2 separate regions of the Homo sapiens genome follow, and region 2 is linked to region 1. The links are contacts of gene promoters, found by promoter capture Hi-C in human tissues and cell types (Jung and others, 2019). All regions are on one chromosome and are shown on one strand. The core of a region is centred on a gene start or on the middle of the fragment in contact, and the rest is flanking DNA. Distances in the headings are between cores, read along the strand shown.

The links. The method cuts DNA at HindIII sites, captures the fragments that hold promoters and counts their contacts. A contact is called where the count stands out against the background at its distance.
Region 2: a contact is called between a fragment that was not itself captured here and the fragment with the promoter of TREX1 in region 1, in 1 of the 25 tissues and cell types used here (stomach).

Annotation. Positions count from the first base shown.
Region 1 is chr3:48,464,784-48,467,479 of GRCh38, reverse strand. It overlaps TREX1 (three prime repair exonuclease 1), which reads right to left and starts at 1,250. Exons shown (of 2, transcript NM_033629.6): 1 at 1,171-1,250; 2 at 1-850. The coding sequence starts at 824. It overlaps ATRIP (ATR interacting protein), which reads right to left. Exons shown (of 13, transcript NM_130384.3): 12 at 2,397-2,649; 13 at 1-1,993. The coding sequence ends at 1,926. It overlaps ATRIP-TREX1 (ATRIP-TREX1 readthrough), which reads right to left. Exons shown (of 15, transcript NR_153405.1): 13 at 2,397-2,649; 14 at 1,171-1,993; 15 at 1-850. RefSeq lists enhancers at 1-440, 655-854, 441-1,322, 1,935-2,024. The HindIII fragment of the contact is 7,289 bases long and covers 1-2,696 here.
Region 2 is chr3:48,804,724-48,807,419 of GRCh38, reverse strand. All of the region lies in intron 2 of PRKAR2A (protein kinase cAMP-dependent type II regulatory subunit alpha), which reads left to right. Among named protein-coding and RNA genes, the nearest start is that of PRKAR2A, 42 kb to the left of the region's middle. The HindIII fragment of the contact is 5,640 bases long and covers 1-2,696 here.

The sequences.
Region 1 (2,696 bases), core at 1-2,500:
GGAGGAAGATCCTTGGTACCCCTGCTCTCTCCAAGGCTGGGACTAGTGTTCCTGGTTGTGGCCAGGTGTGCAGTGGTTGTGACAGCAGATGGTCTTGGCTTGGTCCTAGCAGAGGCTGTGACCCCATACATGGGCCTGATGGTGCCGAAAGGCCTGGCGTGAGCATCCACCCACCGCAGCAGGGCCTGTGGTCTCCACTGACAGATGCTGAGCAGGGCCAGGACATCACCCTCAGCCGTGTGCGAGTCTGGAGGGGACTGCCCATACAGGCGAGTGTAGATGCTGCCTAGGCTATAGCTCTTCCTTGGGCCGTGTTCTGAGGGGCTGCTTGCTCGCTCCAGGGCCTTCAGCGCAGTGATGCTATCCACACAGAAGGCACCATCCAGAGCACTGGTGAGGCCCAGCATAGCCAGCTCTGCTTGGAGCAGGGGGAAGTCGTAGCGGTCACCATTGTGTGCCACCAGGCACCAGGGCTGTGGCTGGCGCCGCAGGAAGGCTAGGAGCAGGTTGGCCAGGTTGTCATCAAAACATTGACGCCCATGCGCTGCCAGCACAGCTGTGCTCAGACCTGTGATCTCGCTGGCTGCAGGGCTGCAGGCCTTCCCCGGAGCCACACACAGGGAGAGCTTGTCTACCACACGCGGTGGTGGAGGAACTGTGGGAGGTGGCCCCTGAGAGGTGGGGGGGCTCTCCAGGGCACATCTGTGGACAGCCAGCAGGCACAGCTCCGTGACCTTGGGCTGGGAGAAGGGCAAGCCAGTGGCCTCCATGTCGAAAAAGATGAGGGTCTGCATGGGCCCCGGGGGCAGGGCCTGCGAGCCCATGGTTGGGTACGTACCTGCTGCTGAGCCTGGAGAGGAGCATGGGGTGGGTGTGTGAGTGCCCAGTGTTAAGATCCGAAGGGGAGGGAGTGGGGTAGGGGGTGGGCAGAAGCACATCTCAGGCCTTCCCTGCACAATCCTGCCCTGTCTGCGAGCTCCAGGGCCCATTTTCAGGCAGGAAGTTGGAGAGGGTGAGGTGGTTTCCTTAGTGGGACCAGCACATTCGACTGTCTGAGAGGGTCTCCCTCTTCACATGACTCGGCCCCTCCCCTAGTGCCCCCTTAGTCTGGGGTGGGGGAACCCATGGCCCTCCTGCCCTGCGCCATCCCATTGTGGGGGCCACACTCACCGTAGCAGGCAGGCAGGCAGGCAGTAGTGACTCGGCTGCACACTCTCCCGCGGCTCTCGCTGGCAGCAGTGGCGGGAAGTGAAACTTGGCGTGGGCCCGCCTACAGGCCCACGTGAGCCAGGCCCGCCCTGCTCGTCAGCCTGCCTGGTCTGTCCCTCTCACCACCATCCGTTCCCCCCCACACCCACTCCCCTGCTCCCGGGGGACCCCAGAGGCCTTCCAAGATCCACAGCTGTGGCCTGCTGGTGGCACAATGCACCGGGGCCATCATACCAGTGACAGGCAGCTGGAAGGACCAGGGCAGTGGTGCCAGACCAGCTCCCGGTCTTACACACTGCTGGGAGCCCCTGCTGCGGCCCTTTCATGCCCACCTGTGGGTCCCAGTTTCCCAGGCTTTCCTGGTTTAGGCCTGGGCCAAGAGCCACCTCCTTCCCTGCCACACAATGGTTTCTTCCCATGGCCCCAGCCCAAAGCAATGACTCAGGACAATTCCACAGGCAGGGCAGGGCTCCTTCCTCAAGGCAGATCAGTTACCATGGGGACGGGCTCAGCAACAGCCAGGGACAGGAAGAAGGATCCCAGCCACTCAGGGTCCGGGTCCTGCTCCACCCCTCCCACTCCGCCAAACAGATCAGACTCAGGAAACAAGGCCAGCCAGTTCTCTGGGCAGTTCCTGCTGGTCACTGCTTTAATCAGTTGATGTGGTAAGGAAAGGAGTGGTGCTGGTGCCACCATGTGGCTGGACACTCAGGGCCTCAGCCACACTCCACCTCGGGGTCTTCCACATCGGTTTCCGCGGCACAGAGGTCATCCAGGGCTGCCTCTGAGACAAAAAGGAGAGGTTCCTGGTGAGGGCCCAAAGGTGCCAGGGCCTAGGGCAGGTCCCACCTCTCCTCCCCCAACGTCCGCAGGAACTAACCAGTCCCTTCCACACCCAGGCCCTGCTCCCTCAGCTACTGCAAACAAAGTGATACAAAGGCAATTCAGACACGGCTATTTCTGGAAAAACCGTGGCTCTGCCAGGCACACTCAACAGATAGATGCAAAAGGCATCCCAATATGCTTGGAGAAGAACTGAGGCAGGAAGATAAAAGAAAATGGCCCCAGTGCTGGAACAGGCTGCAGTGGGCGGGGGCCTGCTGAGGGGACACCCAGGAATCTGACTTGTTGGGGAACCTCTGGAAGAAGCCATGGGGGCTGGGCAGGATGGCCTCTGGCAGGCTTACCTTCACAGTCCGTCACATCAGGAAGCCCTCGGATGAGCATGCTGACCCCCGGCATCACCTGGTCAAACTGATGCAGGACCTCCACGCAGTGCATCATGAAGAGCTTGTCCTTCTGCGATAGGCCGTGCAGCAGCAGCACCGTGTCCCGCAGACAGCGCACTGTCCGCCTCTGCTGGTCGGTCCTTGGGGGTCCCCCTGCCCTCCGCACTGTCAGCCACTGTCTGTGCAACATCACCGTGAGCGCTCTGACCACCTGAGAGAGGGGGGGTGCAGACTGAGGCCTGGTGCCACCATGGCCTG
Region 2 (2,696 bases), core at 61-2,560, 340 kb before region 1:
GTTTTTTCATGTTTATAATTACAGCTTCAAAAAATGATTTTTCATATTCCTTTTTCTGGTATTCTGGCTTATGCTGCCATTAACTCTTACATATACCTTTTTGAGCCACTTGAATTATTTCCTCAGTTTTGGTGCTGGAAGTGGCATTCTCTGGTCAGAGACTGAGCATTGCCTTGGCTTTTTCTGTCTTGTTTTGTAGAGAGAGTCCACAGATTAGGCTACTGGGAGAAAGGCACCCTGTACCTGCCTCTTTTCCACCATTATCTTAATAATATGGAATTTAAATGTAAAATAGTACTTCACATCATTTTATATGGCATTTCTTTTGGTTGTTAAAAAAATGAATGCTGTCCAGGCGCGGTGGCTCACACCCATAATCCCAGTACTTTGGGAGGTCTTGGCGGGTGGATCACGAGGTGAGGAGTTTGAGACCAGTCTGGCTAACATGGTGAAACCCCGTCTCTACTAAAAGTACAAAAAAATTAGCCAGGCACAGTAGCGCGCCCCTGTAGTCCCAGCTACTTGGGAGGCTGAGGCAGAGAATCACTTGAACCCAGGAGGTGGAGATTTCAGTGAGCCAAGATCACGCTACTGCACTCCAGCCTGGGCAACAGAGTGAGACTCTGTCTCAAAAAAAAAAAAGAATGCTTTCCAAATATGAGAAATCTATTTGTATTTTCTTATATGGTACTAGTTTGGTAATATTTTGCCCTTTTATCTGGTATAGTCCATATTATTTTAAAAATAAGTTTGGGTAAACTTTCTATCCAAGTTTTTGACCTTTTGAAATTTTCAATGCAAAATTTCCCTAGGTGGTTATGCTATTTTTTTAATTGAGTTAGAGATGTTAATATATGACTGATAACCTCAAACACTGCTGGACACATAGGCACTCAGTAAATATTTATTGAATATGCACATCATCTTTTTTAAAAAAAAAACAATGATTGTTCCTGAGAAGGCTCCCCTTTTTTCCATAGAGCTGGTAAATATATTTTATGAAAGTTTTTCTTAAAGTGTTTGACTTTTTGATAACTCTGGAATTTATTTGGGAGTACAGTGGAATGTTAATGTGTTTTAAAATTGCTAGGCAAATGGTATGTTCTTTCATATTTCCTTGTTTTAGGAAGGTTTCTTGATTTGAAATTGTCATCTGGCCTATTATAGGGCTAGGAATTGCTTTTCTATCCCTCAATCCTTGTCTTTGAGAAAATCGGCTCATTTATGTTTTCAGAAAGCGTTTATCATTCCACATAAAAATCTGTTGAAAGGAGGTTGAAGAATATGTTATGTTAAGAGAGTCAATATCCTGAGAGTAGGGATTAAGGTTAGTTTGATACCCATGAGCTATTATCTTCCATTTTTGTTCATGTCTGCCCTGCACCTTTTTTTCCTCTGAAAGATTAGTTAAATCCCTTGACATCTGTAGGATAGGTCTGGGAGATGGAGACTATAGTGATACCTCCTCCTGAGGTCACAGTTGGTGTTAGTTTGTTTGGCCCTCTGCCATTGTTGTTCAAATCTTGAACCTTGTAGAAGACTCAGACAAGTACATGGTATTATCCCTCCTCCTTAGATTTTATAATCTTAGGATTTAAAACCTTTTCATATCATTGAAATGTTAAATGAAAATAAAAGATTTTTCAAATAATTCAATAGGATGATACAGGAGAGAAAGTATCCTTTAATAATACGTAACATTTTTTAAGTGCAGACCGTGTGCCAGGTGCACAGTTATAAGGACTTTCTAAATGCCTTCCTTGTATTGTTGAATATAATCTTCAAAATAACACTTTGAGTGAGGCCCATACCATGATTATCCCCAATTTACAGACAAGGAAACTGGGAACAAAGCAGAGGTTAAGTAACTTGCAATAGGTGAGGTGAGCATATGCCCATAGGTAGCATGGATCCTAAGTACCACCCTTGCTATCTCTAAGATTCTTTCTTGCACCCTCTGGAACTCTTGGTTAGTCTTCAGCTAAATCCGCCAAATTCTCACCCTGTTCTCTCAGTGCAGCTTTCACTTTCCAGCTGTAGCTGAAGCTTGGCTTGCCCTGTAGGCTTCTCAAACAATGGCTCTGTCCTCTTCTACCTTCCTTGTAACACTGACAGGAAATGGGTGAATGTCTCTATTGATTCTCTTGGCTGCTTCCAGAGCATTCTCTCTCCCTTCTCCCTGAAAGCTTCTTAAAACTTCGCATTATGGCTGGCCATCGTGGCTCACACCTGTAATCCCAGCACTTTGGGAGACTGAGGTGCGAGAATTGCTTGAGCCTAGGAGTTTGAGACCAGCTGGGGCAACACAGTGAGACCCCATCTCTCAAAAAATTAAAAAAAAATAGCTGGGCATGATGGTGCACACATGTAGTCCTAGCTATTCAGGAGGCTGAGTTAAGAAGATTGCTTGAGCCTGGGAGGTCAATGCTGCAGTGAGCTGTGATCGTTCCACTGTACTCCAGCCTGGGTGACAGAGTGAGATTCTATCTCAAAAAAAAAATTAAAATTAAACTTAACATTATTATATTTTACCAGCCACTGCTTCTCCTTGTTTTAGTCATCTAACAATCCCCAGGTTGTTCCTTCTTATTTCCACATATAGATGATTCTTCCAATGTCTGGCCTTCCATTCTTTGACCTCCTCTCCTCCAAGGATCTTGTCCTCCAGTTGTCCACCCTACTTCAGCCACTCATTC